Linked DNA regions of Homo sapiens: regions 2, 3 and 4 are each linked to region 1. The links are contacts of gene promoters, found by promoter capture Hi-C in blood cells and fetal thymus (Javierre and others, 2016). All regions are on one chromosome and are shown on one strand. The core of a region is centred on a gene start or on the middle of the fragment in contact, and the rest is flanking DNA. Distances in the headings are between cores, read along the strand shown. Region 1 holds the start of ARPP21-AS1 (ARPP21 antisense RNA 1). Region 2 has its middle 140 kb from the start of LINC01811. Region 3 has its middle 91 kb from the start of PDCD6IP. Region 4 overlaps PDCD6IP (programmed cell death 6 interacting protein).

Evidence for each region. Contacts are between HindIII fragments. The CHiCAGO score rates a contact against its expected background, and 5 or more counts as called.
Region 2: a fragment that was not itself captured here is called in contact with the fragment with the promoter of ARPP21-AS1 in region 1 in 1 of 17 cell types (fetal thymus); the score reaches 6.8 in fetal thymus.
Region 3: a fragment that was not itself captured here is called in contact with the fragment with the promoter of ARPP21-AS1 in region 1 in 1 of 17 cell types (naive B cells); the score reaches 7.7 in naive B cells.
Region 4: a contact is called between a fragment that was not itself captured here and the fragment with the promoter of ARPP21-AS1 in region 1, in 1 of 17 cell types (erythroblasts). The highest score is 6.0, in erythroblasts.

What each region holds. Positions count from the first base shown.
Region 1 is chr3:35,646,094-35,653,310 of GRCh38, reverse strand. ARPP21-AS1 (ARPP21 antisense RNA 1) reads left to right here and starts at 1,350. Exons shown (of 2, transcript NR_046679.1): 1 at 1,350-1,603; 2 at 2,827-3,114. The region is part of intron 1 of ARPP21 (cAMP regulated phosphoprotein 21); the gene reads right to left. The HindIII fragment of the contact is 403 bases long and covers 1,271-1,673 here.
Region 2 is chr3:34,015,336-34,022,734 of GRCh38, reverse strand. No RefSeq gene overlaps it. Among named protein-coding and RNA genes, the nearest start is that of LINC01811, 140 kb to the left of the region's middle. The HindIII fragment of the contact is 2,379 bases long and covers 2,075-4,453 here.
Region 3 is chr3:33,885,511-33,892,813 of GRCh38, reverse strand. No RefSeq gene overlaps it. Among named protein-coding and RNA genes, the nearest start is that of PDCD6IP, 91 kb to the right of the region's middle. The HindIII fragment of the contact is 3,581 bases long and covers 2,528-6,108 here.
Region 4 is chr3:33,799,340-33,806,264 of GRCh38, reverse strand. The region is part of intron 1 of PDCD6IP (programmed cell death 6 interacting protein); the gene reads right to left. Among named protein-coding and RNA genes, the nearest start is that of PDCD6IP, 4.2 kb to the right of the region's middle. The HindIII fragment of the contact is 878 bases long and covers 5,144-6,021 here.

The DNA.
Region 1 (7,217 bases), core at 101-2,600:
TTACAAAGAAAAAAATTAAGGATGAAATAACTTCTTTCATTCTTCCTTCAACAAGAATCCCTAAATATATCATAACAGAGATAATGTCACTGCTATGACTACAGCCAAAAAGTAGATAGGTATGGACATTACATAGGCACACAAAGTCCCTTTCACACAGGAGGGAGTTTATAAATATCAGGTAACATTTACAGTACAAGACAATAAAACAAATTATTTATTTGAAATCACAATGCCACATGTAGCTTTTGATCAAACATAATCCAAAGGTAAACTCAAAATCAGTAGAAGAATACTGACTTTTCACTTATCACTGTCCCTGCGCCTTCAGCAAATAATACTCACAAGGCTACAGAAATCTTGGATTTCTATACAGATAAGAATTTTTGCCTGGAGAAACAAGGTAATTCAGAGTGCAGAAAGAGCAAGCCAAGTGAAGTAATTCCCGCAGAGCAGAACAAATGGCACAAATGACCTAATCAATACAGAAATAAGTACAGATTTCCTCCACAAATGGCCACATGGTAGCTTCCCTAACAAGTTCAGAAAAACATCACACTCCTTTCATGTAGATCTTCTTTACCATTTATCGATGTACCTCATCAGGAATACCTACATTTTAGCTGTCAATTCAATATATTAGGTAAATTTACCCAGTAAAATATATAAGCCCATTCAAGTTTGTAGGTCTGCTTCTGTCTCAATGCTGTAAATGCCTTGGCTAACAGTGCAAACTGTTTGATCCCTGCTTAAGCCTAAGGATCCAATCAATAAATGATGAAACAAGTGATATCTCCTCATCCTTTCTTAAAACATAAAAAACAGTCTATTTTCACAGCTAGATCAAAACAATGAGGTAATGTTTTCAGTGATTTTTAGAAAAATTGATTTTAGAGCTCTCTTCTCTTGCTAGATCCTTTGGGCAAATCTTTTATTATACAAATGGCCTTCTGCTGGATATAACCATTGGTTTTATCTGCAAAGTGAACAAGTCACAAGTTTACTGTAATTTTATTTGAAATCATTCTTAGTTCTTAGATAACAGTCCCAAATTGCTCCTGGAAGGATGCTAAGACTAAACTCTCTACAGTATTACTAGACAAATCTAGGAGACCTCTGTGAATCACCACCAGAACTACAATCTTACCCAAAGCTGAGTCACATTAGTAGATTATAAAATACTGCATGGAATCTTGTGTACACATAGAATTCTGAATCACCTATGAATACCCACATCTCTTTTTCAAAGTCTCTACTGCCCATCCAAGCTTATAAAAGGTCAAATCCTGCTGTCTGTGCAAGGAGTGCCTTCTAGAAACAATGACCTGCACTCTGTGTTCACAGATGGCCTCTCCTCACAGAACCATTGATGTGGAAGCATTCATCATATAGAGTATAGCTGTGTTGAAAACGGATTCCAATTATGCCTGAACAAAATATCCAAGATAACTGCCACATCATGAAAACATTCTCAACACTGGGAGGGGTTTTATGGGGATGCTTTAATTATGTGAGGCCTATGCAATCAAGAAAAAATAGTGATAAGGACATAAGAAACTCCAAAACTATGATCACCAGAAAAAAATGAGTACCAAGAAATGAGGTAAGAAGTTTATATTTAATTCTTAGAACAATCCCCTTTTAGAAATGAAACAGCTGAGGTTTAGAAAGCTTAAGAAACTTTCTACTAAGTTGCAGAGTTGGATCTGAGCCCAGGTCTGGGAACCCAGATTTTCTTTTCTTAACCAACTATTCTTGATAAGAGCACCTTCTAAAAATTTCACTCCTGTTGGGTAGCATTAGTGCTTACTTTCAGCGCTAAAGAACAAAGCATAGTTAACATTTATGAACAAGCCAATAAAAATGGATGCATGAATATTATACAAAAAAGTGTCATTAAATAATGGAAATTATAAACTGGAAGAGATCTTAGATATTATCTGGCATAATCCTGTCGCTTACAGGTAATTTCAAAAAGTAGGTTCTTTCTCAGTATTTCAGAGCAAGGTATTTGAACAAGAGGCAGGTCAGAGGCAATATATATTTCTCCAGACATCTCTCTGCCTCCAAATATCTAAATTGTTTTTGCTGCCAATGAAAAAATAATGCATCTTTTTCTTTAAAAAAAGATTATCCTTCAGATGACCTACAGATCAAATCTTTTATTCCTCTGTGGTTTTCCTACAGAACCATTTAAATTTCATCTTCCTCTGATCACAGGCACTATTTTTAATTTATTAAGGATTAACAGATTTTATAATATTTTATCATTTTTTTCTGAAATAATTTTCCTGTTTCCTTTCTCAAACACACAAATGTGGAATCTCACAACAAATTCAAAGAATAACTTGTCTTTTGATAAACCTAATTTTTAATTCTAAATACGTAGGCTGGTTCATGTATTTTCTATACTTTACTCTGATCAGGTACCTTAAACTGTGGATTCAGTTCACAATCCCAATGTAATTTCAACCATTTACTTGCAGCCCTAGTAACTAATACAGTAAATGTATGATTTAATGGGAGTGAAAAAGAGAATATGACTGGCTCATACTAATTTCATATACATTTGTCTTGGTTGATGGTGTTTTTTCTTGTTGGAGAGCAACCTAAATGTTGGTTTTACTTTGTGGCCTATTCCCACCAACAGAACTTTCCTCTCCACCAAAGCTTCTCAGTGGTGCTCACTCTTCCATGTTTGTTTTCTGGAAACAATATTTTTCTACCCTCAAAGTGTACGCTCTAGGGATTACCTAATTAACTTTATTGGTAAAGAAAGATTTTTCTAATTTGTTGGAATTAATTCATATTACTTTATCATCCAAGATATTGTCTACCTATCACTTTGGATTTTTGTGAAACTCTCAATTACTCAATTCATTGTTCAGAAAAGTTAAAATGCATTCATCTCATCCAAGTGCCTATAAAATCCTACACATCAAGTTTTCCCAAGTATTTAGCCTGAGACACAATACATAGAAAACTTCAATAAATACTTGAAAAATAAGAATGAATAAATGAGTGATGGTAATGATATCTGATGCAAAGACAAGCCTTGTTAGCCGTCACCCAAGAACTCAGCTGGCTACTTAACTTGGCTTCCATGGAAGTTCCCTTACTTTGAAACAATGTGTTCTCGAATGTATTTTGCTGGCTTCCTGATGAGAATATCAACGGTGTCAAAATCTATTGCTTTCTACATGTTCCTAAAGCCTGCCACAGTCTCAGAGAAGATAACGTGTTCCTCTTCTAAGTTAAGGTATAAGGTTTTGTTTTTTGTTTGTGTGTCTGTGTGTGTTTAAAGTGGATGGGTGAATGGAAGTTCATTCCATCAACATTACACTTAGCATTTCTTAAAATGTTGGAAACAAATTAAGAAAGCAAACTCATTTCATTTGTAATCATCTGGACCCCTTCCTTTCAAACAAGATTATTTTTATAGATCGGGTAAAACGTGAATTCAGTTCTCAATGGTCCAGTTGGATTAAATGATTTTCTATTTAACTCTGGTTATTCCTATCATTTTTCCAAAGTAGCAGGAAGAGAAGAGCTTCCTATAGCTTGGTGGCACCTGTTCTGCTTAAAGCAGGAGGGGGGTCTGAAAGTCTTGAATTTGTTAATATTCTCTTCTCCCTTTGTCCCTCACCCCTGCCTTCTAATTCAGCACTGCCTACTTGCTTAGTTCTTTGGAGGAGTGAATTCCTTCCGCACATGCTGGGTGTCCTTCACCATGGTTAATCTCTCCAAAGGCACACATCCAGTAAAGATGGGTTGCCTTTAGCTCTGTGTAACAATGATTTGGAAATATTTGTAAACGTGCTTTTGCCTCATTCTTTCTTCCAAGACCATATTAACTGAGTGTTAATGAATTCCCTCCCACTTATATGGAAAAGTAATGTTTGTAGTCAGTTTAAGCAGATTGAACTTTTAGGAGCCTTGTTATTCCCATAAAATCCCTAGTCATTGTCTGAGATCTGAGGAAGAAACTATTTTGTAAGAACCAAAATAATAGCTAGTGCAGTTACAATTCTACATATAAGGGCAGGTTTTTGTCCTCTCAAAAAAATGAATATCAAATCTGCTTAAGCTGAAACTTCAGGGAAAAAATACAATTAAAACCTTATTTAGAGTAGGTTTTAAATTCTGAGTATCAGTAGAAAGGTCAATTTTTAATTCAACAAACTTTGATTAAATATCTGCCACATGCAAGCACTATACTAGCCAAGAACTGCTAAGGACAATGAAAAATGGACTGGGAAATAGGCCTTTTGTTTGTGTATTTAACGTAAGTTAGTTAAATGACTTGTGCGTAAGCATGTCGACTCTAGCAATATATATGTATCCATATAGGAACAAAATATATCTACACTTTCCTTGTTTTTGTTTGTTTTCCAACAAATATTTGGATAGCAAAGAAATATAAATTTATTCTCTGACACCTTCTGATAAATTTTATTGGATAAATAGTTGATTAGGCTATTCCCCAGAAGAATGCTGACATCTGTTTTATAATAGGAAATAAAATGCAATTATCTGATGGATTTACTGCTTTGTATAACTCACCTTCTCCTGTGTTGAATACTATCTGTGGCTCTCAATTTTTTGATAGGGGAACCAATTGTTTAAACCTCAGTTACGAGAGAAGTCTTTCCCTCCTCTGGCCATGTTCACAGAGGCACAGTGCTGACTCATTTCAGCAAAAGTAATGCAGATACTTTAGGATCAGAGGCCAGATCAGCGGCCCTGTCCAAACAGCTCACTCAGTGCTTGGAGACAGGAAGCTGAAGCCTTCTGTGGTAGTGCCAAGGACCCCTTGGTGAGGCCAAAGCTCCATTTGCTTTGTTGCAGAATAGAAAAATGTTTCTCTCATGTCACCTCAAATATGTTGTTAGTCCCAGCTCCCATCCACTAGTGCAGGATTTTAGGTTTTTCCTTCATGGATTCATTCCAGTTGTTTCCTATTCAATGATTTGGTTATTTATTCACCCCATTTAAATGGTAGAAATTACACAACTAAAATGTTCTAGAGAAATAATACCCATATGTTAACATTTTAGACAACTGAATTAGACCATTTCTTCCCTTACAAACTGGCAGAAGATTATGGCCTTGTTAAGCATCATGTTCCTTATGCAATGAACACTTCTGAGATTAGTTACTACCTTGGCTTGGCCTTCAATATTTCATAGCACAGAAAGAGTCAAGCATCACCAATTTTAACCATCAGAAACATTATGGGATAGCAATGAAGGAGAGCTGTATTCCAAATTACCAAAATATTTTTTTTTCTTAAATGGAGGTGGGGATCCTTAAATGTAAGAAAAGTAAATCTCTTTCTGAACTTTTTATGTGAAAGAAAAGTGGTTTCTTTTAAGTGAATAATATCCATGTGTCAAGTGCTTTGTTTCTGCTTTGATCCTGCAAGGTAGGTCTTATTCCCACCTCATAAATGAGAAAGTTGAAGCAATGAGGAATTAACTAAGTTGCCAAAGTCACACAACTAGCAAGTTGTTGAGTTGGGACCAGTGTTACTATACAACTTTAACTGTAGAAACTGTGAAGCACAGAGAGGTTTAGAGCTTTGGCCATAGTCACACTATTTACTCAGACCCAGAAACCAAACACCAGTACCACGCACCAATTCATGTGGTGAATTGCATATTTATGAAGGTAAGTCACAGAAAATGCGATTCAGATACACCACTTTTAGCCCTTATTTCCCTGGACCTTTCATTTTAATCCTAATTTTGTGCATTTCTCTAACCTGTAGAATCTCGTGGAGGGCCATGCGCCTCCTTGGTAAAGCCTTCCTTCATTGCTTACAGCTCATTTACCTGCTCCCTCTCAGATAAGCTACTAGCCTACCTTTGGTATACAACCTCTCTATTACTTTTAATCTGAGTTTCAATCAGAAGCTCCACTGAATTCAAAACATCTCTGTCTACAGCTTCCCACATTATATCAGACAAATAACACAGGCATTACAATTATTTCTGAAATAAAATAATTTCCCTATTAGAGGGATATTTGTATTCTTATCCTGGAAGATGTATAAGTTTGTTGCAATATACACATTCTATCACATTAGCTGTGTATACTCTCCTACCTCTCGATGATGACAAAACACTAAAACACTAAGTTATCCATAGTTCTGGCTGAAGACAATAATTATAATGATAATTAAAGATTAAGGCATTCAGTTGTCAGAGTGCTTAACAATGCTAAGGGTAAGCAGATAGCTGCAGCATGTGTATGCAACATGATTATATGCTAGATTAACTTATCATTCCAGAACACTGTTAGTGATTACGTGAAAATTTCAGTGTTGGAGAGAAATTTGAATCTCCACACAAAAAAGTGTTGTGACCAAAGTTAAATGACACGGGAGTGAAAAAAATGATGAATCATTAATACCAGCTAGTTCTTTGCTGTGAAATTTTTGAATTTAGTACAATGCCAGTTGTTTGACAATTTCCAAAATTTCTTACAACATCAGCATATCTAAGTAAATTTAAAATAAACAAAATATAAACAAAGTCATCGAAGAGTGTTAGCTTGATCATTCCTATAGGCCAGATATATGAAGTAGTCCAATATGACTGCAGAATCCTAACAATTAATTAATTTGGCAGAATTTAATAGCAATTTTAATACAGCTATGTGCCACATTGGCTTAAAGAATCATGATTTGACTAAAAACCTTAATCTTCTTTCTTTAAACAAAGAAAATAAAGTTCCATATTTTTAACCAAAAGCTTCTTTACACCCATTTAAAAATTGTTTTAAAGAAGCATTGAGTAGTTAAAGCTTGCAAATGCTGCAGAATTCTTGATTCTGTCACATACTCACATCAAATCTACTTGTTTTCTGTCCAAAAGCTCTTTGATGATTAAATCAAATCTGATGCTAGCAACGCTGGGATTTCCATCAAAGTTACATAGATATTAACAAGCAAAACACTAAGAAAAACATGTAAATGCAGAGTATAGTTTTTTTATCTCTCTATGTTAGAACTTTTTGTGAGGACTTTAGCTTGCAGTTTTAGAAACATACAAAAAGCTGAAAAATAAATGTGTTAGTCTTCCATTTTTCCATTGAATTTATGGGCAAATAAAATTTAAACAATTACGAGGAGTCATTGAATTTCGGTGAGTTGACATGCTCTTCCTTCACCCTCTATTGACCAGTGGCTCGATTTTTCTAGGTCTATGTAACAG
Region 2 (7,399 bases), core at 2,015-4,514, 1.6 Mb after region 1:
CTGCTTTATTTTCTTCACTGACCTTATCTACCATCTAAAATTATCTTATTAATTTGTTTTTCCATTTAAGATCTTTCTCTGCCCACTAGAATGCAAGTTCCATGAGCCACAGATCTTCATGCCTTATTCACAGCTGTATTGTAGCACCTAGAATAGAGTTATTTATAGTAGGCAGTCAATACATAAATGTTGAATGAATGAATGGATGTATATTAATTAATATAAACAGTAATCTAATCTCAACTCTGAAAATTTAGAGTTTACAGAAAGTTTTCTGTGTTACCTCAAAGAATATAATATTTCATTTTACTTAATGAATGTTTGCTGCATGAATGATTCAATAAAGAAATGAATTTGCATGTCTACACAAAAGGGGAAATTGTCTGAGACTAGAAAAGCTAACATCTGAATGACTTATTATGCCAGGTACTCAGTTTCCTTCCCTCTGTAATAAAAAATCTAAGAATTTCTGGCCAGGATGACCAACTCAGTGGTGGTCAGATCCGTGGCCTCGGCAAATGGTACTAAATGAAAACCAGAGAGCTGAGTCCTGGTTCAAGATAGGCCACCATTTGGCCTTGAAACCTTGGGCAAGTTGCATCTCCTGTGATTCCCATTTCTCCTCTTAGAACTAGGGTATTTGAACTAGATTGTTTCCAAATTCCCTTCCGTCACTTAAAAAAAACAAACACCACCACCAACAAAAACCTAATGATTCCAGCGACTCATAAAATCCCATACCTTGATTGAAAGCCACTCACTGTTCCCTAAAGGAAGCCCACACTCAGCAGCCCCTCCCGTAGCTGGAGTCTTGGAGCCCCAGCCTCACTGCCTAATATTGCAGCAGGGGCTCCCCAGATGTGCAGAGCCTGCCCTTCAGAAGTACAGGTCCTGTCATCGGAGTCGCATCACCTCAAAATATACTTATGTGTTTGTTTGGCTTTGTATTTCCTTTGTGTGACTCTAAATAGCACTTAAAAGAAATAGAACCTAACTCGATGACAAAGTTTTCTTTCTCTCTAGTGGAGTAAGGCTGTCTGCCTGTTTTTCAGCTGACCCAGAAGTGCTAATTTTGCTGATTTTCTACTGTAACTGCCTCCTCATTTACTACACAGTGGAGGTCTGATTCCTTCCTACTGAGACAAGTAGTTTTGCCTGCTCCTTTGGGCTTTTAGTATTCTTCCAAATTATTCTGATTGATATAGACCTCCATCCATGCTAATTATGCATAGCTTCTCCTATAAAGTGTGGTTTCCGTGGCAACAGCAAGGGGGAAACAGGTGTGCGGAAAGCTGTGATATATTAAATGACAGTTACTCTCTGCCTCTCCTATGCAGATTGCTTTTCTCTGCGTTTATTTATAGCAGGCAGTAATTAATCTGTGTGAATCTCATTGCTGCGGGGTGGGGGTGGGAAAAGAGATGCAGAATGATTAACAAGAGTCCTAATTATCTTCATACCTTTGAATTTGAGAATTTCATCACCATCAGATAATTCCGAAGTTGAATTGTTGAACTTTCACTTGTACAGAGATGCCATTGCATACAATTCAAAGCTACCATCTGCAAAAGGAAGCATTTTTCTAACTGCTGTAGTGCTGACATGGGCACCTGCGTCATGGCATTTTGTGGAGGGTTCCAAAAGTGGACCCCGGGGCACTTGCAAATGATCTGTCAAGGTATAAAATTAGAGCAGGCCAGTGACCCAGACCCCAGGGACAGCTGATCCCTACATAGTTTGCAGTAGAACTGCTACCACAAAGCGGAGGAAAATCAGGGCAGCATCACTTGAGGCTGGCCTCATGCAGGGCCCAGAATCCTGCTGAACAGGAAAAATATTCAGGCAGACAGCAGATCTGGGCTCCAACCAGTGCCAACATTGACTTTCTGTGTAACAGATCATTTTGCTTCTCTGAGCCTCAATTTCTCTATCTATAAAATGATGGCATTAAACCAGAAAATCTCTCAGGTTTTCTCTAGCTCCCAGATGGTGTGAACTATATGTCAGATTGAGATAAGGTGTTGCTGCAATAACAGATAAGCTCAAAAGTTTAGTGACTTAAAATAACAAAGCTTTATTTCTCACTCCCACTTCATGTCCATCATGGGTCTCCTGGGGGTTCCTCCAGATCATTATCTCACTCTAGGACCACCATTGATGGAATAGCCACTATCTGAAAGAATGTTCCTGGGTAGGGGGTGATGGAGCAATCTCATACCAGCAATTAATTTATTGGCCAAAACTGATCACATAACCTTGCTTAACCACAAGGATGGAAGTACAATCCTGCCATGTGCCAAGAAGGCAGACAGCTGGAAATATTTGATGAGCCACATTAATTGCTATTGTGTAGACTTTAGTATCAGGGCTGAGAAACTCTCTGTGTGCTGTATGTGGACCACTGGAGTAACAATGACAACTTTGAAAACCACATATAAAGATGGGGGTGGAGGAAACTGAAAGAATATATCAGTCATTGGAACAGTGTGCTGGGATGATAGATTTATGAGTGTTTTCTGTTTCTTTCTTCTATTTTCCAAATTTGTGACAATATTATTTGATTTTGCATGTAATTAAAAGATTAATTCATTTTAACTCAATATATGTGTATTGAAGGTCCATTTAATATGGGCACTGTGCTAGTCACCATAAAAAATACAAAATGATAAAGTCAGGTTCACCAATGACTATCTTCAACAATGTGAGTGTGTGGTGCTGGTGAAAGAGTGGAGAAAAGTTAAAATGCTGAAATAAACAGCCATGGATGAGGGTTTAGACAGTGGGAAAAGAATGGTGGAAATGCTACTGAGGTGAACTGAGGGAAGAAACATTGAAAATGACCACTTGAGGAAGAAATAACAGAAACAATGACTTCCAGGAGGAGAAGGTGATTTCAGAACAAAGATGACAGCCTTGGTTTGGATCATATTGATGCATAAAGACAAGAGGGAAACTCTGGGACTGGAGTCCATGTTAGTGTTGGATATGTGGATATGCTGATGTGTGAATCACCTGTTCATGAATAGTACATGAATCTGTGGAGGTGCATAGGTTCCCAAGGGAGAAGAGAAAAGAGAAGAGGAAAATTCTCAGATCGTTTGAATCTCTGACTGTGGTGTTTTGTTGTTACGGTGGTGGTTCTACGTTTCTTTTTTTATTTCTAAAATGACTTGGAAAAACTAATAAAGAACACTATAAAAATGAAAACAAAAGGAGAAAATAAGGAACCAATACACGTACCCTCCAAAAAGGAAACCTAACTTCAAAGTTAGCCTGCCTTGTGCTAGGAAGGAAAGGAAAGGAAAGAAAAGGAGGGGAGGGGAGAGGAGGGGAGGGGAGAGGGAGAAAATAAAATTCATGAATAGTTTTAGCAGAGTTTTAGCACAGAAAGGGGAAACACTGAAAAAATATATATCCTTCTCAGTGGATTTCCCAAACACCACAAGAAACATCAAAAATTATTAAATTCCCAATTACTGCCATACGTACATATGTTTTTCACAGCTGGAAAACAAAGTTGAAAATCAACCAGGACAAGTGAGCAGAATATAGATGCACTTGAAGACTTTACCAACCCCCAAAGGGGTCGAGCAATTCAAAAGTTAAGGTAACAAGAGAAGATTTCCCATGGGGAAATGCCTGCCTCAGAGTGTAAGACAGAAATGTTGGTCTGCCATTACTCAGAGCTCCCTCAACAAAACAGTGGTCCAGTAAGCCAGGCTCAAAGCTGACCTGAACAGCAAGCAAGGTACCAGTGTCTTTTAAACAAGATAACCCTTTATTGCCAAAACTGGCTGGAATTAACAACTGTCACTCCCAAAATCACTGATAGACACACAGAAAAACTCACAAGAATCATTCATTTTTTTCTATCTATGGCTCTAGTGCCTAGAATAGAACAGGGTTAATAAAGGTTTTTGGAACCTTAGGACAAAAAAATTGAGCTTCTAACAGTCCAAGTGTTTTGTCTAAGGCCAAGCAACTGGTAAGTTTTGATTCCTTGTCCACGGTTTTCTCTACTTTCTTGGCCTGCCCATCCTCCTAGCTAATGTCACACACAGAACATCACATGCCCAAAACACCACATTATATTAACCACTTGTTTTCCTTGAGGATCCCAGGATGAAAATTAGCTCAGTGTAGATGGCTTGCAGTAATTCTCCTCTCTCCTTCCTTCACAATGTTATTTTGCAGCTCCTCCCATTCGGTTGTCCTTGTGACTTGCTTTGATCAATGGAATATGACAGAAGAGGCATTGAGACTGAGCCTCAAGAGATCTGAGCTGCTTCCACATGCTCTCTTGGAAACCCATGCCCACCATGTGAACAAGCACAGGTTAGCCTAAATGCCTACCACTCCCTCCAAATTCACAGTCTTTCCAGAGTCAGACACGTTAAATGACTTGCCCAAAGGCACACAGCAAGTGTAAAGGCAAAACTCAGTATAGAAAGCTTAGCTTAGCCAGGCATGGTGGTGTGTACCTGTAGTCCCAGCTACTTGGGAGTCTAAGGCAGGAGGATTGCTTGAGCCCAGGAGTTCAAGGATGAAATCAGCTGTGATCATTCATGCCACTGCACTCCAGCCTGGGTAAGAAAATGGAAGGAAGGAAAGGAAGGAAGGGAAGGGAAGGGAAGGGAAGGGAAGGGAAGGGAAGGGAAGGGAAGGGAAGGGAAGGGAAGGGAAGGGAAGGGAAAGGAAGGGAAGGGAAGGGAAGGGAGGAAAGGAGGAAGGGAGGAAGAGAGGAAGGGAGGAAGGGGAAGGAGGGAGTGAGGGATTCCACTTTAATGCTTCTTCCACTACAACCTGTAAAAATGTCATTTAATTAGGTTAAACAAAGGGTATTGGATGAATGAATGAAGCCCAAAACTGAAGACTTTCACAATGAAATCTCTGCTCTACACTTGCCACCCAAGTTCCAGGCCCACATTTCTGATAGTTTACTGGATATGACCACTGTAATTACCCTCCATTCCTCAAATCCAAGTTACATCTTATATCCAAAACGAAGCACCAGATTACGTTGTTGTTTTTGTTGCTTTCCATTTTCCTTTATTTCCTGTAGTGTATGGTGCCAGAAAGACCAGGGTTCAAATCCCAACTCAGCCACTTAATTGGCTGTTGTAACATTCCTAAGACAAGGACAAAATTTACCGTATAAAAATACAAATCTCTTTGACCTGAACTGCCCTACAATTAATTTGCTGCCTAAAAATAGCTTTTCCCAAAAAAAAAAAAAAAAAAAAAAAAAGGAGGAGGTGTTAACCTAACCAACATCTCTGGAGAAACAGCCAAAGCAACTTTACAGAGGCAGTTCCTAAAAATGTATCTGCAAGTCACAGGATGTGGCTTTTTCAGATGTGACATGCCACAGGAAAAGCGCTGAGAGCTGTTGTGTTTCTGCAACTTATTATACGTGTTTAATTAGAATTTGTCTGTCAAGAAGCAGCTTAAGCAGCAGTTATCAAAAGGGCATAAATATCTTGGCATCAACCCTTCTGCCCCAGAATTTAAATAGAACCAAAAAAAAAAGGCACAGGAAAAGGCAAGGATGCTTTGGCTACCTTGTCATATGAGCTGGTGAGGTGAGTGACCAGCTACCAAGCTCACAAACCAGCCCAGAACTGAGGCATGCTGGCACATGTCTGCCTGGGAAGCTTCACCCCCTCTCTGCCCACTAGGTGATTCGTTTAATGTTTCATTTTATTGGCTCCTGTCTTTCCTTAAAATGTGAAATACCTTAAAATGTAAATTTCCTTTTATTTCCTGGAGTACGTATGGCGTCCTCTCTGGGCCAAGAAAATGCACAGATGACAACAACAGATGATCCTTTGCCTACAGTGACAACTTTTTACCTTTGGTAGCTATGGCAGCCATAAGGCCAGGTATGGTTGAGGCTGTATGGTCATGCTACTGCTTAAACAGGGAAGTGGATCTTCTTTGTCCCACAGCCCCCTTTGCGGGGGCTAATAACACCTTGCTTTTTAGCAACTTAGCAAAAGCTACCACTTTACTGGGTTTGTAGAGCTGTACCCTAAAGACCAAGTTTAAATATTAGATTAATGCACAAATAATTGCGGTGTTTGCCATTGCTTTCAATGGCAAAACCGCAATAACTGTTGCACCAACCTAATAAGAAGCCTGGAACATTCTAGGGAGGAAGCAGCCAAGATCCCCAACCCTGGCTCCTCCAGATTTAAAGATAAGGCAGTTTATTAGGATGTCTTCAGGGACTCCAACCAAGGCCCACAACAGGGCAGGTCAATGAAACCTGAGACAAAATTTCCTCTGAAAAGGGAGAAGCCAGTCTAGCTCAAGAGCCAGGGTGTCCCTAGGTACACACTGGTCCCAGCCGTTAGGTCCAATACTGGACCTCCCCACACAGAGCCAAACTCATTCGTTTGCTCATTGTCGATGGATGCCTTTGTGCTACAAAGAGGGGGGTTGGGTAGTCACGACAGAGACCATATGGACTGCAAAGCCTAAAATATTTACTATCTGGCCCTTTCCAGGAAAAATGTGTTGACTCCTGATTTAGGGAATGGCTGGCTAAAGCTATGATATGACCAGGAAGTCTGTAACTTTGGAGCTGGATCCTGGAGTACCCTTAGGCACACACTGGTATCTGAACTCACAGCTGGTGAGTGGACAAGCTGAGACTCAAACCCATGTCCTTGGGATTCCAAGTCTGTAAACCAAATGAATATAAACTACCTTTCAGCAGGAAAACACTGAGTTCAAATGACTGCTACCAACCTAGGCTTGCATTCCAGGCCTTCCTCCTGGGCAGAGCCACAGGGTGTCATCCTGTCTAAAGAGTTTGCTCTTAGAACCCCCTTGAACCACCTCCTAGCTTCCCAGTCAATGAAGCCTCTTTGGGGACGGGAATGGAATTCAAATATGTTACAATAATTTCACAAGATAAACCACAACCAAGACAGTTGGCCACTTATTGATGTATTGCTTTGAAGCTCCAAACTCACCCTTCAATGCCTGCTCTGCCATAATGAACTGGACTCGCAGCATTTCTCCTTTATGGTAAGCACAATGTCAAGGTTTGTCAGTAGAGGGCGATGGCAGGACATTGCAGAAGGAAGGGGCTTCTCTTTTTGATTCCGCTTGCTGTTTTGCTTTTTCTAGCTTCAGCTGCATGTTCTGTCAGCAGAACATGTGGATGGGGACATTGTCCGGGGGTGCTCTGCCCCAGCTGCGCACCCAAAGCAGGCTTCTCCAGAAATCTTGCAGCCTTGGCCCAGGCTCAGTAACCACTTTGCTGCAGCCCTCCAGTCAGTCACTGCATAGTCTGGGCCTTGTTCCTGTAGTGGCATCCCCACGAAGCCCTGCTGCACACCTCCCAACCTCAGCTTACCTGTGCCGCCTAAGGTTGTTGCTGTTTGCCCAG
Region 3 (7,303 bases), core at 3,069-5,568, 1.8 Mb after region 1:
AGATAGATAGATGTAAAGGATCCGTGGTTAAAAATCAGGAGTGGCCTGTGGTGTTATGATATATATTGATTTTCATCCACAGTTCTGGCTCATAACTCCCATAACCCTTGTTGCAGTCTTTTGTTATAATGCTGGGTGTGTTAGGCCTCTGACCTTCTCCCGCCCTCCTTTCACCTGCCCCAAGGTAGGACTCTAATGTTCTCCACCTTTCTGATTGTGGATGTTTAGACTCTCCCATGAGAGGGTCGCACACTATCCCCTGGGGCAAAGGAATACTGATGTAATGAAGCTTCCATAAAAACTCAAGAGGACTCAAGAGGGTTCAGTGAGCTTCTGGAGAGCGAACATAAGGAAGTTCCTGGAGCAGGGCCCACCCAAGGAGAGCATGGAAGCTCCAAATCCCTTCCCCTATACTTCATCCTATGCTTCTCTTCATCTGTATCCTTTGCAATATCTTTTATAATAAAATGGTAAATTAAATAAATTAATAAATGGTGCTGGGAAAACGGGCCAGCCACATGTAGAAGATGAAACTGGATGCCTATCTCTCACCTTACCCAAAAATCAACTCAAGATGGAGCAAAGAACTATTTAAATCAAAGACCTGAAACCACAAAAATTCCAGAAGATAACCTAGGAAAAACTCTTCTGGGCATTGGCCTAGGCAAAAAATTAATGACTAGGACCCTAAAAGCAAATGCAACTAAAACAAAACTAAATAAATGGCACCTAATTAAACTAAAAAGCCTCTGTACAGCAAAAGGAATAATCAGAGTAAACAGACAACCCACAGAATGGGAGAAAATATTTGCAAACTATGCACTCGACAAAGGACTAATACCAAGAATCTACTAGGAACTCAAACAAATCAGCAAGAAAAAAATGAATAATCCCATCGAAAAGTGGGCAAATGACATGAATAGGCGTTTCTCAAAGGAAGATCAGGGAAATGCAAATTAAAACCACAGAGAGATACCACCTTACTCCTGCAAGAATGGCCATTACTAAAATGAAAAAAAAAAACAATAGACGTTGGTATGGGTGTGGTAAAAAGGGAACACTCACATACTGCTGGTGAGAATGTAAATTAGTAAAACCTGTATGCAAAACAGTATGAAGATTCCTTAAATAACTAAAAGTAGAACTACCATTCAATCTAGCAATCCCACTACTGGGTATCTATGCAAAGGAAAAGAAGTCATTATGTCAAAAAGACACTTGCATGTGTATGTTTATTGCAGCCAACTCACAGTCGCAAAGAAATCAATCAGTGTAAGTGACCATCGAACAATGATAAAGAAAATGTGATATACATACACACCATGGAAAACTACTCAGCTATAAAAAAGCACAAAATAATGTCTTTTGCAGCAACTTGGATAGAGCTGGGGACCATTATTTTTTCTTCTTTCCTGGCCCACTGGCTACAAAGGAGAGGAGGCCATTATTTTCAGTGAAGTAACTCAAGAATGGAAAACCAAATACCATACGCTCTCACTTATAAGTGGGAACTAAGCTATGAGTATGTGAAGACATACAGAGTGAGATAATGGACTTTGGAGACTCAGAAGAGAGAGGGTGGGGCACAGTGAGGGATAAATAAACTACACATTGGGTACAATGTTCACTACTCAGGCGAAGGGTGCACTAAAATCTCAGACTTCACCGCTATGTAATTCATCTGTGTAACAAAAAACCACTTACACCCCAAAAGCTATTGAAATTTTAAAAACTATATTAATTTTTAAAAATTACAAACCCACAGAATTATGGGCTAAATGGATTGTTTCTTTTAAGTCACTCTGTTTTAGAATGGTTTGTTACACAGCCAAAACTAACTTATAAAACCGGTTATTAAATTGTTGCAGGGGCCAGGCACAGGGGCTCGAACCTGTTCCAGCACTTTGGGAGGTCAAGGCGGGAGGATGGCTTGAGCCCAGGAGTTTGAGACCAGCCTGGACAACATGGTGAGACCCTGTCTCTATAAAATAGATAAATAGATGAAAATGAATTGTGGCAGGAAGATCGCTTGAGGCAGGAGTTTGAGACCAGCTTGAGCAACCTAGCAAGACTCCCACCTCTACAAAAAAAGAATTTTAATTAAGAAAATAGTTACATTTCTTCCATATCAGTTAGTAAATATTCCCTACCCAACCTCCCAACCACCAACAATCTACCCTACAATCCAGCAACAAATGAATTAATGTCAGGTCCTACAGAGACCTCCAGGACATACTCTGTTTCTATAGCCTAGAGTGTTCTGATTGATCAATATGAATATCAGTTGTTAAATATTTTTGAAATTACCACTGGTCAAAGGAGCATGACTAAGCCAATTATGATATCTCAAAATATATAGTTACTAAAAATAACTATATGAACTGTATGTTTATAAAATCATGCTATAAAATAATATTAAATGGAAAAGAACAGATTACAATCAACTGATATGCATTCATTATAATAACACTAAATGCCTATGTGCACATTGACAAAGATGAGAATTGAAATTGTAGTACCAAAAGCTTGGTGGGGTTTTTTTCTCTGTACTGATTTTATTTTAGTGCACAAGAGAAAACAACTATAATTTTTCCAAGTAGAATGTATTTAGAAACTTTTCTTCCTGGAATTGGGAATCTCAGAGCAAAGCCCTAATCTTGAATATAATGCATTAAGAAAAAGTGTTTAGCTTCCTATAGGCAATATGTCCTAAATGCCCATTTAAATTTCTATTTTTAAAGGCTAAAAATTTGCAACATGAAAACAAAATCAATGTGCTCTAGAATCAATCATACTCATTTAGGCTAATATTTATTCATCTGTAAATAACTTTGCTTAATAAACTCCTATTCCCCAACCCAACATGGAAAGAAACCCTGTTTTTGCCAAGTCAGCTCCCAGATTTTTGTGATGCAAAAGTTATAAGATGAGTATGGCAGACATTGCTAGCTTCTTACACAATATCCATTCTTCCCTTATCTATTCAGGGCCTTATTTCCAAGGCTCCCTTGTAGCTAGCAATGGCCATGTGACCGTCTCTGGCCAATGAGTGTAGGGAGAATTCTACCGGCTGGGGCTTCCAGAAAATCAATTGTTTTTCTGATGTAAAGAGACCATTCAGCAGGCACATATCTTTTGCTTTTGGCCATTCCCCCTCTTCTAACCTGGAATGTAAGCATGACGCCCAAAGGTGCAGCAGCCATCTGTGAGATGAAGCAAACCATCCACCCTAACTGGCAGAGCAGAAAACCAGGAAGAGCTTCTGGCACAGCTGTGGAGCATCTGCCTATGGACTTCTTGTCTGGGGAGAGATTATAAATCTCTTACTTATTTTAGCCACTGTAATGAGGTTTCTGTAACATACTGCCAGACACAACACTGGCAGATAAAAGAGGGGAGATGAGTCCTGAGAGACAGGAAGAAGGTAGGGAGGATATGCGCAGAGAGGCCAGGTCAATCTCTTTAATAAAGAACTAGATGAGGAAGGAAGAAGCAAGAGAAAAATCAGCTCTGGATTGTGGTTACAGGAGCAGCTTGGGTGCTGGCACAAGAGACCATCCGGAGGAGCTGAGGAGTAGAGGCAAGGGTCCTTGAAAAGTGGAACTGTGGCTGGTGACTCTTATCCCCTCGAAGTTCAACAGAGTCATGCAGCAAATGGAATTCCTTCTCAAGTACTTCTGGCTGCTGAATTTTGTTTTGTTTTTGTATATGGAGAACTCTGCAGAGACTGAGCCATGTGGAGGCCCAGGGTTCACTAGGGTTATAGAAGAACTAATCTGGGAAAGTTATAGATGACAAGGACAAGTGTTGCTGTAGTGAAAAGGGCAGAAACAAGGAAGCAAGGGATGTGAGTTCAAGTCCTCATTCTTTCACAATCTGCTGTGAAGCATTAAGCAAGCACTTTGTCGCATCTTGCTTCAGGTGCCCTTTTGTAAAAGCAGAGAGGCAGACCAAATGTACCCTAAGAACCCTGTCAGCTCTGTGACTATAGTATTCCAAAAGCTACTGTAAGGGCAGGACATCTGGACTCCTAGAAGGATATCCCTTCCTCATGTAGCTTTTCTTCTTGTCTTTGATGGCACTATATTGGGTGCATGAGGGTGGGGTTTGCAAGGAAAAAGAGGTCCAATTCATTAACCGATATTCCAATTCAATAAACATCTGCTGATCACCCGCTCTGAGTTGAGCACTCAGATTAATATGGCCAGAGGATTCCATCTAAGCTCCTTAGCAAGCCCCAGAGGCCCCCACCATAGGGCCCTGTCTGACTCCTTGGGCTTACACCCCCTGGTTCTCACCCACGTCCTTACTTCTGGTGTCCCTCAGCCTACTGGGATACTCGGTACCTCCCCAGGCCTACTCCAGATATGCCTTCTTGCCTCATATGCCCATCCCTTTTTGACCTTCCGATCTGGGAAACTCCTACTCATCCTTCAGTGCCCAGAGGTGGAGGGGTGATGGGGAAGCAGCCTTGAGAGTTTTCAGCTGGTAGCTGGCCTCATCTCTACCTGCTAGACTGTGTTGTCCCCTGATGAACACAAAATCTTTCAGAGAATATCAGTAGCAGTTGAGAACTTCAGAAAGACTTCAGAAAGAACTTCAGGAGCAGATGGCTGCTCCATGATCAGACCTGAACAGAGGTAAAAACAAAGACCCTGTGCAATCACAAGAGTGACCAAACCTCCCTCTCCCTAGGCTAACATGAGATGCTGCTGCTTCTTTTCCAGTGATACCTCTAACCCCAGTATTAGTACACTAGTACTAGTGTAAGATGCTCACTCACCAAATTGCCCCACTTTCTGACAGCACCAATCCAGAACAGAGCCCAGCTTCATTGTACTCTTCCCCAAATCACCAAACACATGACCAAATCCTCCAGTAAGCCCCACTAACTCCCTCTTATCCACACATCCACGGTTCTCTGTGGCATTCACTCTCTTTTGGTGTAGCAAATTATGACTGCAGGTGTTTCCCTGGTGGCCTTTGGCAGGTGGCCATTGACAATCTTTTCCACTCTGATCTTCAATCCAGCAGAGCAAAACTTCTCTCTCATGTATTCCTGTGTTACCTGTGCACACTTCCAGCTTCCTTGAATCCTTTTTGGAACAACACTCTGTTACAACACTTCTCACTCCATATTGCATTTCCTGGTATCCATGTCTGTCTACATCTCTCCCCTGTGACTGTTTATTCACCAATGACAGGGTCCCTGTCTTCCTTATCACTTCCTTCCAGCACCTAGCCCAGGGTCCGGCACAGAGTAGGTCCCCAGGATGTCTTTGTTGAATAAATGCCCCAAGACTCCACACAAAGCAGCATGGGTGGACTCTGAGAATCTCAATTCAAAGCACCAATTGGTTCATAACTCTCTTTCCTTCACAGCTCACATCTCATGTGGAACCACAGGAGGAGGATATTAGAAAGTTGCTCTTCATCAGCACTTCATGCGGCTTCTCATTTCTGCCTCGTGTGCTGTTCTTAAATTTGCAAAGTTGTCATCACTGTTGATTATCCAGTGTGGCCACCTCCGTGACTTCAACATCCCCTGACAGTGCTAGGCCCGTTTATTGAAAGCAGAGGACTGCAACTGCAGGCAAATAACAGGAACACGAGCTAATGAGTTGGTAACACCAAGATCCTTCACGAGAGGGAAGAAAGGAAGAGTCCTAGGGTTTAAATCACCTCCATAAAACATCCACAAACAGGACTCTGTGAGGCTGTCAGGAGCCTATGGTTTCTGTTTAACATGCACAATTAGCATTTTTAGGAAGCAGCCTTTTGGGGATAAGTATGTCCTGAAGTGTACCCTTTTATTCCTTTTTCAGTTAAAACACATCTGCTTAAAGGCAACCTGCACTTGCCCTGGCCCATGCACCAACAGTGCACCATCCCTGGCTCCCCTCCCATCCCATCTTCAAAGGTGCTATGGAAGAAACTGCAGCTGCTTTCACTAAGGAAAATGTGATTTTTCTCAGTTTTACCAAATGTGAAGCAAATATTTTTTAAGTGGTCAAAAATAACAGAAGTTTTTTTGTTTTGTTTTGTTTTTTCTCTCCAAAATGGCTCCCTTGGATGACAAGGGTTGTACAGACCCCATTCACTGAAGCTTCAAATGAAAACTTTACGTCCACTCCCGTGTCCTCACTCTGCAGCCCCCACTCCTGGTACCTCGCTCACGTCAGTAAAGAATTAGGGTCATGGACAAATACACAGGAACAAGGCGCCCAGTGGGCTCTCTGAAAAAAGAAAAGAAACAGCTCTCTTTTTTCATAGTTGAGGGGAGGTTTAAATATAACAAAATGACCTTTTTTTCCAACAAAAATTAATTCTACCAGCCACAGGAAGGGTTGTAAACGAGATGTCACTTCTCAATGGTTTAAGAAACATGTAACCTGGAGAATCACCTCAATTTTGTCACCTATAAAGCAAGGTTCTGTTACCTGACCCCAGCATCAAAAAGTTGTTATAAGAAATATTTGTACAATATCTTTAAAGTGCCTGTGGTTTCTCAAAGAAAAAAAATGGAGTATGAGGCAAGACTATAAAATCAAGTGTGGGCATGTCCATAAATAAATGAAACAAGTTCTGAGACCACAAGCAGAAATTGATCTTGCAGCTTAGAATTCCAGCACACCCAGGACTGACCCAGGCGGAGGAAGCACCAGGGCCCTCTGGGAGAATAGCCAGGAGTCCTGCAGAGCTAGAATCAGGCACAAACCTAGTTCTTGAAGTTGGCACTACCATGGTGGTCACAGCAAGGATGGCCTCCAAGGAGTCAGAGAGAAGCGCTGCTCCTCCTATCTTGTCACCACTGCCAGAGCCTGCCACCACCAACTGCTGCCCCTACGGCTCCATCACCACCACCAACCAACTATTCCATCATCATTTTCCAACCTACACTACCAACAGCTACCTCCTCATCACTCCACCAACCCTTCATTATCATTCCATCAACAACACCAACACTACCTGTCCATCACTCCACCACCATCACAAACAGCCACCCCAACCGACCTACCACTCCACCAACACCAACCACCCCACCGTACCAACTATGCACCACCCCCAGTCCACATCATTCCACCAACACCACCTGACCATCACTCCATCACCCACTCCACCACCTCACGTCACCCCACCAATGATGACTACCCACGACCACCAGTACACATCATTCCACCAACACCACCATTACCCCAGAAACAACCACAGCACCAACAACTACCTCACTACAACCACCCAGGCATCATCACACCACCCGACCTTCACCCAACCATCACTCCACCACCGTGGTACCACCACA
Region 4 (6,925 bases), core at 4,333-6,832, 1.9 Mb after region 1:
ACATGTATGACAAATGGTAGTTACAGATTACTGTTTTGCAACAATGGAGAAGTACTTATATATGTTCTCCAGTATTTTATAAAACTCAACCACTTTGGCACAAATATATAATAACTCAACTTAAAAATCTCATGGGGAAAAAGAAACTAGGAAATAAATACATTTCTTTGAAATACCACAAATAGGTACAGGACAAATTCCCATTAGAAATTCTAGTTTAGGCTGGGCACGGTGGCACACGCCTGTAATCCCAGCACTTTGGGAGGTCGAGACAGGCGGATCACAAGGTCAGGAGATCGACACCATCCTGGCTAACACGGTGAAACCCCGTCTCTACTAAAAACACAAAAAAATTAGCCGGGCGTAGTGGTGGGCGCCTGTAGTCCCAGCTACATGGTAGGCTGAGGCAGGAGAATGGCGTGAACCTGGGAGGTGGAGCTTGCAGTGAGCCAAGATCGCGCCACTGCACTCTAGCCTGGGCGACCGAGTGAGACTCCATCTCAAAAAACAAAAAAAGAAATTCTAGTTTAAAAAAAAAAAAAAATTGGCCAGGTATGGTGGCTCACACCTGTAATCCCAGCACTTGGGAGGCCAAGACAGGAGGACTGCTTGAGTTCAGGAGTTCAAGACCAGCCTGGACAACACAGCAAGACCTCCTCTCTACTAAAAATTTAATAATTAGCCAGGTATGGTAGTATGCACCCACTTGGGAGGTTGAAGTAGGATTGCTTGAGCCCAGGAGATCGAGGCTGCAGTAGGCTATTGTGGCGCCACTGTACTCCAGCCTGGGCAGCTGAGCAACTGAGCCAAGGCCCTGTCTTAAAAAAACAAAAATGTTAAAATTTTTAAATAAAGATTAAATTCTATATTTAATTTTTAAAAAGGAAAAAAAAATTTTTTTTTTTTTTTTGAGACAGAATCTCACTCTGTCGCCCAGGCTACAGTGCAGTGGTGTGATCTCGGCTCACTGCAACCTCCACCTTCCGGGTTCAAGCAATTCTCTGCCTCAGCCTCCCGAGCAGCTGCGATTACAGGCACCCGCCACCATGACCGGCTAACTTTTTGTATTTTTAGTAGAGACAGTGTTTCACCATTTTGGCCAGGCTAATCTCGAACTCCTGACCTCGTGATCCACCCGCCTCAGCCTCCCAAAGTGCTGGGATTACAGGCATGAGCCACCACACCCGGCCGGAAAAGAATTTTTTAATTTAAGGGGAAGGTGTGGGGATCAAGAACAACCAATCCACATGGCCAAAATAATACTGCAATGCTAATTCACACAACCCTATTCAGCTGCAATCTGTATTTAGGGATGTGCAACTCCAGACCACCAACTAGAGGATGAAACAAGAGAATCAGAAAAGCTGGGCCAGAGATATTGGCTGGAGTTCATAGATTCTTTGTGAACTTTATTTTCACACTTCTTTCTTCACCCAATTTAACACATGAAAAATCATTAATCAAGCACTACTGCAGCAGAGAGTATGGCAAAAAGTAACTAGCTGGGGAATCAAGAGGTCAGGATCTTAGTCCAGTTCTGCCATAAAGATAGCTTTGTGGGCTTAAATCTCCTGTGTAAAGCACCTCAGAAGATTCTTCTTACAGATACACAGAATGATGATAGTCCTGATAAGATTTACTAAACACCAGAAAAGTCAAAACACAGAAAAACAAATCAGATTTTAAATCTTCCCATATGTTTATTCACCTATGTGGAATAAAATTACGGAGCCAAAAAGGTCTGCCAATTACAGATATTCCTTGAGACCAGGGACCAAGTATATCTTTATATCCTCCACATTGTCTCCTACAGTATGGTTCACACAGACTCTCCATTAGTATTTGGTTAACAAATTGTAGCAACGTCATTGTGCTAATATTATCTCAATATTGAGACAGCCAGGTGGGAGGGGGTCCCTGGAGAAATTCCAACCAGCCTGTTCACTAAGGTGGAGCCTTGGGAAATTCCATAGGGAGGAGACTGGCCCCTCCTCTTCCTGTGCGGAACCTGAGATTCAAGCTGCAGGCGGGATGTGCTCTAACTGGGACTCTAGCTTTGTGAGAGTTCCTGTTTCCCCCTTTTCTTCCTTTTCACCCAATAAAACCCTGCTTTACTCACCCTTCAAACCGTTTGCAAGCCTAAATTTTCATGGCCGTGGGACAAGGAAAAGTTCTGCAAAGAGTATGTTCACCACCAAACCAACAACGAGAATCCAAACAACAGTTATGAAGTAAAACAGAACATTTTCTTTACTGATCTATAAAACACTACCATGTAGAAAATATTTCAGAAATTAAAAGAGTATTCCATCAACTTCATTTTACAAATGAAAAAGTCAGTAGGATGCAACCAATACAGACTGAGAAAAAAATACACAGTCCTAAAATATATTAGAAAAACCAAAAAGATGGAAAACTAACCAATCAATACAAAAAGATAGAAAAAAGGAACAAAGAACATTTTTTAAAAAAATGAATGACAAGGGCAGAAAACCAACCAAAAAGCCTTGGTTTTAAACAAAGAAAAGGTGGCTCCAAACCTTTGGCAAATCTGAGGGAGGAAAATCACACATAACACATGCACAACATTAGGAATAAGAAAAAAAATGTTAACTACAGATTATGAGATGACAACACTTTTGGGAGAACTTCCATGTGACAAAAGATAGAATAAACACAGTTGAGAGACAAGAAACAGATTGGAAGATTTTTGCAACATACCTAATGAAAAAAGTATAAATATCCAGAAAATGCTACAACTCCTACAAATTAGTAAGGAAAAAACAACTCAATAGAAAATGGGCAAAAGAAAAGAACAAGCAATCACAGAAAAAGAAACAAAGTGGCCAGTAAACAAAAACTGTTCAACCTCAGTAAAATAAGAGGAATGCAAACTAAAGGTACTATCTCTCACCCATCAGTTTAGCAAAAAGCAATAAATTAAATTATTAATCAGTACGTATTAGCAAGGATATGGAAGAATAAAGTACTCCCATATACCTGCTGATGAGAATGTAAATTGTTACAAGCACTGTGGAGAGCTGAAAATGCAAACAAGTTCCTCTTACAGTTAAACAAATAAATCTGAATAAACATCCTTCTTTGCTCCCCGCCAAAACCCACTAAAACAAGAATTTAAAAATGTAAAAGATGTACATGAACATGGACAAAAAGAACGGGAAATGACACACAGGATATAAGAGGTTTCAACAAAATTTACTAAAAGGTGAAAAGTGAATGAAAAAGAGAAAGCCAAAATCTAACTGGCTAAGAGGGAAGGGAGCCAAAGCAGAAGCCAAATCATGCCAGAGAAGCCAGAAAAGGATCTGAATTAAGAAACATGAGGTACCTCTGAAGGTAGTTCAATGTGAGGCTGGAACGAGAAGGTATGGTTGAAAATCCTTCAAAGAAAACTTCAGGCTCCCAGATCCTCTACTCTGAAGGTAGGTTCACTCTCAAAAAAACGTCAGAGATTGGCCGGGCACAGTGGCTCACGCCTGTAATCCCAGCACTTTGGGAGGCCGAGGCGGGTGGATCACCCGAGGTCAGGAGTTCCAGACCAGCCTGACCAACATGGAGAAAGCCCGTCTCTACCAAAAATACAAAATTAGCCAGGCAGAGTGGTTCATGCCTGTAAATCCCAGCTACTCAGGAGGCTGAGGCAGGAGAATCGTTTGAACCCGAGAGGCGGAGGTTGTGGTGAGCCGAGATCATGCCACTGCACTCCAGCCTGGGTAACAAGAGCAAAACTCCACCTCAAAAAAAAAAAAAAGAAAAAAGAAAAAAATGTCAGAGATATCAAATATAACTAAGGTGGAGATCAAGCACTGCTAAGTGGGGTAGGGAGTGCTAATTGACTACATCATTATCAGTCTATCCTATTCCTTATTAACAAAACTGTGTCCCTTTAGCTGAGTATACAGCTGCTCATAATGAAAATTCCTTTTCCTAGCATCCTATCAGAAGGACACACAAAATGGCCGGTAACATATAGGCAGGGTGTTGTGGAACAGTTGCCAGGAAACACCCTAAAGGGCGAGCCCCGTGCCTTTCTCCATCCTACTACCTGGAACTTGGATATGATTGCAACCTGGACCTGAGAACAATATTCTAGGTTTCAAACAGCAGAAAGCTGAAAGGAATCTGAGCCCCAATTAACTCCACAGAAACACTACACCAGCCCTGGGCTACCAGAACTACCTACCTGCCAACTTTTTACAAAATAAAATCTTAACTCAGATAATTTGGGATCTACCACACAGAAATGAACCTAACCCTAATGCAGGTGTCATACTAAAAATAGATGTACCTGATAGACTGCATACATGATTGTTAAGATCCCCAACCTCCATTCCCCAGGATAAAATTTAGAAAGCTGATAAGCAGACTTTTTCATGGAAGACTAGAAGCTTTCTCTCTAAAGAAACTGATCACCACAAAAGAAATTACACAATGCTGGTAAATGGTATATCTGGAGCTTCAAATAAAATACAAAATAAAAATAAAAAACCAGCAGGGTTCCCATTTGATCACCCTAGGTCACCATTTACCAAGGTCTAATCAATTTTTAGTAAAAGCCACTTTATAAAGGAAGAAGTATCATATAAAAGGGTTTTTTGTTGTTGTTGTTTTGTTTTGTTTTGAGACAGCGTCTCAGTATGTAGTTCAGGCTGGTCTCCAACTCGTGGGCTCTAGTGATCCTTCTGCCTCAGCTGGAATTATGAGTGCATGCTACCACACCCAGAACAAATGAGTTTTTAAGTACTCATTCTCATTATTATAATATGCATAAATGTATATTTTAGGAAATTTTAATAGAACACCTACAAGTTAGTAATAAGAAAACAAGTCTATCACTGGAGCAATATATGGAGCTGCATATCAGGACTTATCAAGCTGGCTTCAATTATTTAGGAATTAGTTTAAACTCTGTTTTTCAAAGTTCATTAGTTTAAAAAGTTCATTAAGTTAAAAAATTAATGTTAAGTTTACACAATTATCCAAACATAATTATTAAAAATAAGATATTCTGCCGGATTTGAATGAACATCACACAACTGATTCACATCTAATTTTACAGCGTATATACCTACAAAACTTTTGTACCTACCTCCATTATAAACTTTAGTAATATCTCCAAGCTTACCCTAACCCCTCTAGAAGCCCAAAAAGTGAAAATACTTAATATTTGTTGAATTAATGTGGCAGGAGGGGATTATACAGAGGTGACTAAAGAAACATGGTTAGTTTCAAAGAGACTATATCTACAACAGGTCCACTACCTAGGAACAGTTCACACATTTAAGTCTGGTAAAAAGAATAAAGGAAGGAACAAATGAATTAAGTTTTAAAGTTGACAGGAGAACCGTATCCAAACCATTATCCACCAACCTCCCATGTCTGTTAGCTTAAAACCCATGCACCAAGTGCTTCTGAAGACCCCAAATCTGAGGGCTGGAACCAAATTTGATATATTCAACAAGATTTTTATCACAGGGCTCATTATACCACAACTATGTTTTCTTAATATTACTAATGGAAAATCCTCACTGAATGCTATTCATGCCTACATAAAAATTACCTTGAAATTGTTTAATTATGTTAATTCTAAAGAATGGCTAAGTATTTCTAGGTTAACTTTAAAAAAAATGCTTATGCTATTAGACTAATGATCCTTGCAGCCCAACAGTTGTAGCTCTAAAATTTGACACCAAGGGGTCTTAATTCCTCTGAGCAATCTATTCAGTACCCCTTCCTTCGGAGAACCAACCCTTCCCCAGTCCGGACTCATCTTGCTTTGATCCATGGGGTAAGGAGAAATTAAACCGGCTGGATGACTCAGATAAGGGCAATTAACTTAGCCCATTTCCCACCATCATAAATGGGTGCAAACAAACCCAGGAGCCTCCCATGGACTTCCACCAGAGCTAAGGAGAAAAGCACTCCCTTCTGTAAGATACTGAGTGTTGCGGACGATTGTTATTACACTACAGCCATCCCTCTCAATACATGAACAAAGCTTTCGAGGGAAGCATCACGGAGGCAAGACGATCTCCAGTGATACCTAAAGCTAAGGAAGGAATATCCCTAGACTTTTCAGTTAGCAGAATAAGTCTTACTTTTTTTTTTTTTTTTTTTTTTTTTTGAGATGGAGTCTCACTCTGTCGCCCAGGCTGGAGTGCAGTGGCGCGATCTCGGCTCACTGCAAGCTCCGTCTCCCAGGTTCACACCATTCTCCTGCCTCAGCCTCCCGAGTAGCTGGGACTACAGGCACCCGCCACCACGCCCGGCTAATTTGTTGTATTTTTAGTAGAGATGGGGTTTCACCGTGCTAGCCAGGATGGTGTCGATCTCCTGACCTCGTGATCCGCCCGCCTCGGCCTCCCAAAGTGCTGGGATTACAGGCGTGAGCCACCGCGCCCGGCAGAATAAGTCTTTTCTTAGCTCAAGCTAGTTTAGCCTGGGTTTCTGCTACTTGGATTGGAATACAATTGTGATTCTCCTGTGAAACAAGTAGAATATACTATACGGAGAAAACGAGATTAACAAGGTATGCAAAAGAAATGTTTAACTATAAAATCGTAAAAAATGTTCTTATAACTATTAAGTATCATGAAAGGAACCCTCATTAAATCAGCATGAGCTAAATAAGCGTTTGCTAAAATAACAAATTTACTCTACTGTGTATATATCTGTTTGTGAACAAACTGCTTTTAAACAACCTACCTTGAACGGTTCAACTATGTAACTAGAGTTTTATTTCAAATAGTTGTAGCTCCTAACTTTCAGAATTCTCCATCTATCATTTGATTATTTTGAACTGAGGAAGACGGTCCATTTCATGTGGACAATGTGATGAGCTGATCAGACATTTGGTCCAGTGTCCCAATTCCCCCACTTCCCCCACTGCCTTCAAGCAACTACT